2 separate regions of the Homo sapiens genome follow, and region 1 is linked to region 2. Evidence: promoter capture Hi-C in human tissues and cell types (Jung and others, 2019). All regions are on one chromosome and are shown on one strand. Each heading gives the region's core, a stretch centred on a gene start or on the middle of the fragment in contact. The rest is flanking DNA. Distances are from core to core; before and after follow the strand shown. Region 1 holds the start of TMEM240 (transmembrane protein 240). Region 2 overlaps GNB1 (G protein subunit beta 1).

Evidence for each region. The method cuts DNA at HindIII sites, captures the fragments that hold promoters and counts their contacts. A contact is called where the count stands out against the background at its distance.
Region 1: the fragment with the promoter of TMEM240 here is called in contact with a fragment that was not itself captured in region 2 in 2 of the 25 tissues and cell types used here (dorsolateral prefrontal cortex and heart right ventricle).

What each region holds. Positions count from the first base shown.
Region 1 is chr1:1,537,469-1,542,470 of GRCh38, reverse strand. It overlaps TMEM240 (transmembrane protein 240), which reads left to right and starts at 1,847. Exons shown (of 4, transcript NM_001114748.2): 1 at 1,847-2,181; 2 at 2,681-2,787. The coding sequence starts at 2,125. SSU72 (SSU72 homolog, RNA polymerase II CTD phosphatase) reads left to right here. Exons shown (of 5, transcript NM_014188.3): 5 at 304-798. The coding sequence ends at 405. RefSeq lists a silencer at 2,968-3,262. The HindIII fragment of the contact is 20,414 bases long and covers 1-5,002 here.
Region 2 is chr1:1,883,052-1,888,265 of GRCh38, reverse strand. The region is part of intron 1 of GNB1 (G protein subunit beta 1); the gene reads left to right. Among named protein-coding and RNA genes, the nearest start is that of GNB1, 5.4 kb to the left of the region's middle. The HindIII fragment of the contact is 4,669 bases long and covers 345-5,013 here.

The DNA.
Region 1 (5,002 bases), core at 598-3,097, 340 kb after region 2:
TGGGTCTGAGCCCTGGCCGCCAGGTCTCCGTGCTGGGCCCCTCTCAGAATCCAGCTCCAGGCTCCTCCCAGCTCCTCCCAGCTTCAGGTCCTGTGAGGGTCGGTGGGGAGGTGGGGGCTGCCCGGGACGCTCTCCCCCTGCAGCCTCCGGCCGTCCTTGTGAGGCAGCAGCGGTGGGGTGAGGGCCTGCCTGCTGCGCTGGTTTCTGCTGGCTCAGGCCTGGCGTTTCCCTGGCGATCCAGGTGTTAGGGGGAGCAGACAGGCAGGAGTGGGCAAGGCCCTCACCACGGTCCTGTCCTTGCAGATCCAGCACACGGAAGACATGGAGAACGAGATCGACGAGCTGCTGCAGGAGTTCGAGGAGAAGAGTGGCCGCACCTTTCTGCACACCGTCTGCTTCTACTGAGCCCAGCGCCCGCATGGAGCCGCCTCTGGAGCTTCCTGTTGTTCATACTTTTTCCTTCCTGACATTTGTTTTTACTTACAGGTGTTCTGCTGGTGACGGTAGCATTACCCAAATAAACTGTGCATATGAAATGGGAGAGGAGATGCCAAAACGCCAGATGAAAGCAATCAAGTTTCTTCTTTTCCACTTTTACTTATGAGCAGGATATTGATTACAAAGTTTTTCTTCTTTAACCAAAAAGGAAAGACAACGGTTTGTGTGCACTTCCCGACATACCTGTGTCTTCGTGTGCCTGCCTTCCCTCCCTCCTCCCCACCGGGCCGGACTGTACAGAGCCCTGCTGCGGCGTGTTAGGAATGACCTGGAATTGTCAATAAACAGATGCTGCTGTCATTGTGCCTGGTCCTGAATTCCTGGCCCGACCCTCGCCCCTGAGGAGGTGGCAGAGGCCTAGCCCTGCCGCCCTCAGTGACCTCCGACCACTGCTTGGGAGGAGTAGCTCAGACCTGGTGGTGCTGACAGGGTCTGGGCCTACCCGTGCCTGTGCTGCCTGAAGCGGAAGCCGCCTGCTCCTGCCACAACTGCTGCCTGTGGTGGAGCGGCGTCCCCTCTCCATGTGGAACCCCCCCGGGCGGGGATCCCCCAAGGCCAGCTACGGGGGAGGCTGAGCCGGGAGGATCGCCTGAGCCCAGGAGTGGAGGCTGCAGTGAGCCTGGATGGCGCCACGACCCAGGCTGGGTCCCAGGCATAGCTTCCCGCTGACTTCCTGCTGAGGCCGGGGGTCGGCTCCCGGGCCTGAGACATGGTCACCGGTCGTGGATGAGAGTTTGGCCTCAGGACCCCGAGCCAGGGACAGCCACAGCGGAGTGGTGGCCACTGGGCCTCTGAATGGCCGGCGTCCCGACCCATGGGCCTGGGCTGACCCCCTCGTCCCCGCCCTAAGGGAAGCCTGTGCGGGGCGGCCCTGCCCTCGGCTCCTGTGCCACATCCCTCCGTTGAGGATTCCAGGGGTCATCCCGTCCCTGACCTGTGGCCCCCACGGCCGTGGGGCTGTCGCGACCTTGCGGACCCCACCCTGGAGGCACGTGCGTGCCGAGCGGACTGGGGCAGTCCCGCACCCGGCGACCTGGGAGTCCAGGACGTAGGGCGGAGCAGTGGGGCGGGAAGGGCCTCGGCGCCCCTCCAGGACCGGAGGACTGGCGTCCAGGGTCACCGGACAGGCCACCGGGGCTGGGTCTGACCAGACTGGGGCGGGACGCGAAGCCGAGGCTCCCGGGGAGGGGTCCCGGCCGGCGTCCGGGGGATGGCGGTCTCCTCCCGGCGCTGGCACGGGGCGGCCTGCGGTCTGCGCGGTCCCTCCCGAGAGGCGGAGGAAGGCGGCGGGGAGGGAGGGGGGAGGAGGGAGGAGGAGGCAGGGAGGGGGCCGGAGCCGAGCGGAGCCGAGTCGAGCCGAGCCGAGCGCATCGCAGGGAGGACCCGAGGGCGGAGCGGAGCGCGGCGGGCCGGGCCGAGAGACCCCAGAAAGGCCCCGCGTCCCTCCCCGGCGCCCCCCCCCCCGCGCCTCCTCCCCCCGGCCGGTGCCGGGGTTGCAGCGAGCGGCGGCGGACGATCCAGGGAAGCGCTGACCTCTGCGGAGGCGGCGGGGGCTCAGCATCGGGCCGGGGCCGGGGGGGCGCCGGGGCCGGGGGGCGGCGCTCCGGCCCGGCCCGGCCCCGCCCGATGTCCATGAGCGCGAACACCATGATCTTCATGATTCTGGGGGCGTCGGTCGTGATGGTGAGCGGAGGGGCTTCCCGCGCGCGCCCCCTGCTCCCCGCCCGCGCGCGCCGCCTGGCCCACCTCCCGCGCCTTGTTTACCGCCCGTGCGGCCTGCGCTCCCCTCCCCGGCCTGCGCTCCCCTCCCCGGCCTGCGCTCCCCTCCCCGGCCTGCGCTCCCCCACCCCGGCCTCCGCTCCCCTCCCCAACCTGCGATCCCCACACTCCCTACGCTCCTCTCTCCGGCCTACGCTCCCCCCACCCCGGCCTGCGCTTCCCCCTCCCCGGCCCGCGGTCCCCTCCCGGGCCTGCGCTCCCCCCACCCCGGCCTGCGCTCCCCTCCCCAGCCTGCGATCCCCATACCCGCTGCGCTCCCCCTACCAAGGCCTACGCTCCCCTCACCCCGGCCTGCGCTCTCGCTCCCCGCTTGCGCTGCCCCGACCCCGGCCTGCGCTCCCCACCCCCAGCCCCGCTTCGTCCCGCCCGCTCCTTGGCGCTGACCGGTCATGAGCTCTTCCAGGCCATCGCGTGCTTGATGGACATGAACGCGCTGCTGGACCGATTCCACAACTACATCCTCCCGCACCTGCGGGGCGAGGACCGCGTCTGCCACTGCAACTGTGGCCGGTGAGTCCACAACCGGCGCCGGCTCGACACGCGTGAGCGCACATGTGTGGCGGGGCCCACTCGGGGCGCGGGGGAACCAGCCCCACGCAGGCCGCGAGCCGCCTTCCACCCTTGAGGGCTGCCAGGTGCGCAGGGGGAGGAGCTGTCTCAAGGTGGGCGGGGGTCTCCTGGGGGCGCATGGCTTTAGGACGCCGTTCCTAGAGGCCTCCAGGGTGATGGCGGAATGGGTCACGGGGCCTCCTGGTCCAGCCTGGAGGCCGGAAAGCCGCAGCCCAGTGTGATGTCCACAGTGGAGACCCAAGCCAGCCTCATCAGGGCTGGGGCAGGAAGCGCCTGCTGGCACAGGGCTGGGCCCTGCACTGAGTCCCTGGGCAGGGGAATGCAGGTCAAGGCGGGAAGGGCCTGCCTTGAGGGGCACTGGGCACCACCCCCGGGCTGGAGAGGAGCTGAGGGATGGGCTGGGGGGGCAGCGGGGAGGTGGAGCTTCCTCAAGGTCATTCAGATTGAGGGGAGCGCCCAGACCCCCCGCACCCACCGTGTGACCCCCTCTGTGCACGTGTAGCGATGGGATCCTCTTGGCCATGCATGTTTGTACGTCCATGTACGAAATAAACATCTTCTCATGAGACGCGCATGTGTGTGGCGTCTGTGCATATACATGTGCGTACACACAGCCCCCGCGCACGCACGCATGCACTTCCACCCCTCAGGACACCCTCACGCAGTGGCCGCTGTTAACCCTGCTGAACAGATGAGGAAGTGGACGGAGGATTTAGAGGACAGGCTTTTCCAAGGTCACACAGCTAGTGAAGGACAAAGGGGGCACCAGCCCAGAACCCGTGTTCGTCATCTCTGCTGCCTCCTGCTCCGGGGGTCTCTGTGCATACGTGTGGGTGTGGGGCATGTGTGTTCAGGACAGCTGCATGTGTTGCTAAGCGTGTGACATGCCTATGGGTGCAGCAGGCGTGTCGATGAAGAACACGGGTGTTAGAGAAGGCAGAGATCGGGGTGTCTGTGACCCTCACGTGTGCTGGGCACAGGGTAGGGGGTAAGAGCTTGTGGGGTGGCCACATGCTACCAGAGAGCCCCGTGTCCCTGGCTGGCAGGTCCGACTGCTGAGCAAAGGCCTGAGGTCGGCTCCACTGCCTCCCGGAGGCTGGGCCCAGACCCGAGCTCCAGAGCATCAGAAAGGTGCGGCCTCCACGCACGTGGGCTGGGGCCGTGTGCATCCGCCTGTGGCAGCACACTGAGGGCTCCGCGGGGCAGGCAGAGGCGCCTTAGAGTATTTGCACAGGGCATGTAGGGCGGCTCATGCCGTGTCCAGAGCACGCGTGGACTCGGGTGGGTGCACGCTGAAGGCAGCCGTGTGTGGGAAGCAGAGCCACAGCCTGCTGTAGACGGTATTGCTGCGTGTGTGTCCATGTATCTATGCTCTGTTCACATCTCTACATACAGGATATGTACGTTCAGCGTACAGAGTGCCCTTGTATATTGACAACATATATGTGTATGCAAAGTACATGTATGTCACAATATACAGTGCCGTGTGCTCAGGGACATGTCAAGATGTCTCCGTGTAGCTGCAGCCAGTGTGTGTGCAGACAGCAGTCTTGCACATGCGGTATCTGCGTATCCACCATGCCCGTGCACTGCCATGAGAGGCTCCCTGTGTGTACACGCTGGTGTTCAGAACGAGTGTGTGTACATGTGTAGGCCTCATACGTGCCTATACGTAGACGTTGACGTGGAGAACGTGTATGGAAATCAATGCTCCAAAGTCTGTTGGCAGGCAGCGTCCAAACTAGACATCCGTCCATGCACGTGACGTGGCGCCCCGTGGAGAGGGTGGCTGCGTTTTGCAAAGCCAAGCGAACATGCACTCGCGTGACACACCGTGCACAGGGCGGGGGTGTGGCGCTCCCGGGGCCCATGTCCACAGTATCACGCCATGTCCCGTGCATGTGGCTGGTGTGTATACGTGATGTACACTGGGCCTCAGGTGGACACACCTGGTGTGTGTGGTGCAGGCAGGACACACGTATGTACATGTCACAGACATACGTGTGCAGATAGCATATCTCTGCCCAGGCCTATCTCCTGCTTTCACTTGGGAGACCTGAGCCCTCCAGGAAGGAGGGCCAGGTGCAGGGAGAGGAGCTACAGGTACCCAGGCCAGCCATGGTGGGGGACACAGGCTGTGACCTCTGACCCCCAA
Region 2 (5,214 bases), core at 1,430-3,929:
TCTGCGGGAACCTTTCAAGATGAGTCTTATAGAGGAAACTGTTCCAACATGAAATTTCAGCTCAGAATTGACTTTCTCAAAAGAGCACATCCACTGGCCAAAAGCTATTTCTCTCGCGTAATCTGAATTTATGACAGAACCATAGTTATCTCATCAGACAAGTACTGACAGTGCTCTTCAGTGATACCTTTAAAATATTGTTTTTTCTTTGATATCTTCAGTTAATTCTGTTTTTTTGGTGGGTGGGAAAGTTGAAGTAAATTTTCTCAGATTTAATTTTAATCTTAGAAGATTCAAGAGACTGCAGAATAGTGTGTGGTTTTTTTATTGTTTGTTTTTAAGAGTAAAACCCACTGGGTGTGGTGGCTCACGCCTGTAATCCCAGCACTTTGGGAGGTGGAGGCGGGCGGATCACATGAGGCTGGGAGTTTGAGACCAGTCTGGCCAACATAGCGAAACCTCGTATCTACTAAAAATATTAAAATTAGCCGGCGTGGTGGTGGGCGCCTGTAATCCCAGCTACTCGGGAGGTTTAGGCACGGGAATCGCTTGAACCCGGGAGGCAGGGGTTGCGGTGAGCCGAGATTGTGCCACTGGGCGACAGAGTGAGACTGTGTCTCAAAAGAGTAAAAACCTCTGTAAATCCTTTTGATGCCCAATGACTTTGATTTCAAAGCTAGTATCATCTAGGTAGATTTATGTTGATCACTTGAGAAACAGAATTTGAAAAGTTAATTTATTTCTCAAAGGAGATGTTGTACTATCCTGCAAAAGTACCAGAGCTTTGTTCTCTTCCCTTTGCTTTGCTAAAAATTTCTGGGTCTTTTGGTTTATTTTATGTGTGTGTTGGTCCACTGGAAAAGTTGTAGCTTTGTAGCTAAAAACAGCTTTGATAAAAGGATGAAAAAGGTCTTCAGGGCATCTCTAGACTTCATCTACCATCAGTTGACTTTTTGTAGCTAATACTTTAATGAATAACATTGGTATTATTTTAGAAGTGCAGTGTTGGCATTTATTATAGTTTTGTCGTTGTTTTTCTCTGCCCGAAAGATTTGGCTCATGTTGGTCTCTAAATTGGATTACATTCTTACTGTCTGTGACTTTGGCTTTAGCATTAGTGGATTGGTAATAGATATTCTCAATTTTTAAATCTGGCTTGACCATATGGCAGGCCATGTTATTTTGAAACCCCTATTTAGTGTAAGTCTCACAAGACATGGAACAAAAATTTTTATAAAATTTTAAACTGGTTTGACCGGGCGTGGTGGCTCACACCTGTAATCCCAGCACTTTGGGAGGCCGAGTCAGGCGGATCATGAGGTCAGGAGATCGAGACCACCCTGGCTAACACGGTGAAACCCCTTCTCTACTAAAATTACTTCTCTACAAAAAATTAGCTGGGCGTGGTGCTGGGCACCTGTAATCCCAGCTACTCAGGAGGCTGAGGCAGGAGAATGGCAGGAACCCGGGAGGGGGAGCTTGCAGTGAGCCAAGATCGGCCACTGCACTCCAGCCTGGGCGACACAGCGAGACTCCGTCTCAAAAAATAAAAATAAAAAAAATTTTAAACTGGTTTACATTCTGATTTCAGGTTTGCATTTGTTAAGAGTGGTTGGAGAGATTATGAAGTAGGCAATTCAGTTAAGTGTTTGGTTTAGGAACACAGAATGAGGAGATAAAATAAATTTAAAATGGAAACTATCAGAAATTTATGAAACTGCAGTGTTCAACATTACTGAAAGAAAAAGCAGGGCCAACGTATATGGGAGTGAGTGTGTATGAAGAGAGAGAAATGCAACATCACATCAGCTGCTCTGGGAGAGGGACAGAGCACCACCTATTTCAAAGCTATGCATTTTGTTCTAGAACTTTGATTGAAGAAATAGAGACAATCTATAGACATTTGAGTTTGCTAGTGGATTAGTGGAATGCTGAAAGCTTTTTTTGTGAGACAGAGTCCCACTCAGCCACCCAGTCTGGAGTGCAGTGGCGCAATCTCGGCTCACTGCAACCACCATCTCACGGGTTCAAGTGATTCTCCAGTCTCAGCCTCCCGAGTAGCTGGGATTACAGGCACCCGCCGTCATGCCCGGATAATTTTTTAAAATTTTATTTTAGTAGAGATGGGGTTTCACCATGTTGGCCAGGCTGGTCTTGAACTCCTGACCTCCGGTGATCTGCCTGTCTGAGCCTCCCAAAGTTCTAGGATTACAGGCGTGAGCCACCGTGCCCTGCCGGAATGCTGAAAGCTTTTTTAAACCTTTTAGCCTCTTGTTCTTGTGTCAGTGCCTACCATTGGGTGCCATGGTAATCAGTGGAAATTACTCCTGGCTTTCAGTGGTAGAAAAGCTTTCTGTTTTATAGAGCAATGTTGCTTGCTTGCTTTTTTTTTTTTTTAAGATTAAGTGGGCCGGGCACGGTGGCTCACGCCTGTAATCCCAGCACTTTGGGAGGCCGACGTGGGCGGATCACGAGGTCAGGAGATTGAGACCATCCTGGCTAACACGGTGAAACCCCATTGCTACTAAAAATACCAAAAAAATTAGCTGGGTGTGGTGGCGGGCGCCTGTAGTCCCAGCTACTTGGGAGGCTGAGGCAGGAGAATGGCGTGAACCCGGGAGGCGGAGCTTGCAGTGAGCCGAGATCGTGCTACTGCACTCCAGCCTGGGTGACTGAGCGAGACTCCGTTTCACAAAAAAAAAAAAAAAAAAAAAGATTAAGTGGAAGTATTTCCTTATTTATGTCTTCTTAAATTAGAATTCTGAGAAAGACCCATTTTTTAAAAGCTTACTGATTTAAAAGACCAGATTAAGATTATCTAAGGTAATTCCTTTTTTCTTTCTTTTTTTTTTGAGATGGAGTTTCCTTCCTGTTGCCCAGGCTGGAGTGCAATGGCGCTGTCCTGGCTCACTGCAACTTCTGCCTCCCGGGTTCAAGTGATTCTCCTGCCTCAGCCTCCCAAGTAGCTGAGATTACAGGTGCCCGCCACCATGCCTGGCTAATTTTTGTAGTTTTAGTAGAGATGGGGTTTCACCATGTTGGCCAGGCTGGTCTCAAACTGCTGACCTCAAGTGATCCGCCCGCCTCCGCCTCCCAAAGTGCTGGGATTACAGGTGTGAGCCACCGTGCCCAGCTTAATTTTTAAGTTTATTCTGTTGAACCTATTTTGCCATAGATAAAATATTTTTATGATTTAATAATTCATTGCTCCAAACTTACTAATGCATTATATCAAGAGAGGACTTTATGTATTAATTCATTCACCTGTTAGAATTGGAATACTGGCCGGGCACGGTGGCTCATGCCTGTAATCCCAGCACTTTGGGAGGCCCAGGCGGGCAGATCACGATGTCAGGAGATCGAGACCAACCTGGCTAACACAGTGAAACCCTGTCTCTGCTAAAAATACAAAAAAATTAGCCGGGCGTGGTGGCAGGCACCTGTAGTCCCAGCTACTTGGGAGGCTGAGGCAGGAGAATGGTGTGAACCCGGGAGGCAGACCTCGCAGTGAGTGGAGATCGCGCCACTGCACTCCAGCCTGGGCGACAGAGCAAGACTCCGTCTCTCAAAAAAAAAAAAAGAATGGGAATACTAAGGGCATCAGTGGAATGTATTCTTGTTTACTGGTGGGTAATCATGTCTCCATGCATGTCTGTGTGCAGTCCTGTAGCACTTAGAAAATATATTCCCTATGTTGATTACAGACACTCAACTTCTGCCGAGTGTTGTAGTTAATAAAGCTTAAAAAATTCTGGGCTGGGTGTGGTGGCTCATGCCTGTAAACCCAACACTTTGGGAGGCCAAGGTGAGCGGATCACCTGAGGTTGGGAGTTCAAGACCAGCCTGACCAACATGGAGAAACCCTGTCTCTACTGAAAATACAAAATTAGCCCAGACGCGGTGGCTCACGCCTGTAATTCCAGCACTTTGGGAGGCCGAGGAGGGTGGATCAGCCTGGCCAACATGGAGAAACCCCATCTCTACTAAAAATACAAAAAATTACCCAGGCATGGTGATGCATGCCTGTAATTCCAGCTACTCGGGAGGCTGAGGTTGCAGTGAGCCGAGATCGTGCCATTGCACTCCAGCCTGGGCAACAAGAAGGAAACTCCATCTCAAAAAAAAAAAAAAAATTAGTCGGGCATGGTGGCACATGCCTGTAATCTCAGCTACTCGGGAGGCAGAGGCAAGAGAATCGCTTGAACCTGGGAGGCGGAGGTTGCGGTGAGCCGAGATTGTGCCATTGTACTGCAGCCTGGGCAACAAGAGTGAAACTCGGTCAAAAAAAAAAAAAAAAAGTCCGGACACTTTATAATTAGATGAGCATGTCAAAAGAGTCTACAATAGGTTTCAGAAAATTTCTCATAGGAATTTTAAAATAATTCCTAAAATCTAGGGAGTGAGAGAAATTCAGTAGTTTTCAAAAGGATTGGCACTGTCTGAGTTAGAGCCCAGCTCAGCTCTGTTGCCTCACTGGCTGATTTGCAGTGTTAGGACTTTTATTCGCACTGAAAATCAAGATCAGTTCAACTTCTACCCTTCCACTCCACAGGAGCTTTCTGTCCTCCCTGAGCCTGCCTTAATTTAGGCCACCTGCAGTGTTAGGACTTCTGTGTCTGTCCTTATCTGTGAAACAGGCTCCTAGAGCCTCCTTCATGGGGTCATTGTGAGGATTAAATGAGTCCTGATGTGGGCACTGATAACAGAGCTCAGTGCAAGGATTAGCTATTTCTGTTGCTGATGGCCTTGCTTTGTAAAAATTTCTTTTATGGCAAGGTTAACAAATGTTATAAGATGACAGTTTACTGAGATTTTTCTTTTTTTCTCCATGGTTCCAGAAGAATATTAATTCAGGGTGTGGAACATGCATATTAGCTATCTTTGCAAATCCCTATCACTTATTTACTGCCTTACTTTCTACTAAATCTCTCACATCCTTATCTTTTCTTGAAAGGTTTTTTTTTCTTTTTCTTTTTTTTTTTTTTTTGGGACAGGGTTTTGCTGTGTCACCCAGGCTGGAGTGTGGAATGTGATGGTATGATCATGGTTCACTGCAGCCTGGACCTCCTGGGCTCATACGATCTTCTTCTCTCAGTCTCACAAGTAGCTAGGACCACGGGCACATGCCACCGTGCCCAGCTAATTTTTTTTATTGTTTGTAGAGACAGGCTGGTCTCCAACTCCTGGGTTCAAGTGATCCTCCTGCCTTAGCCT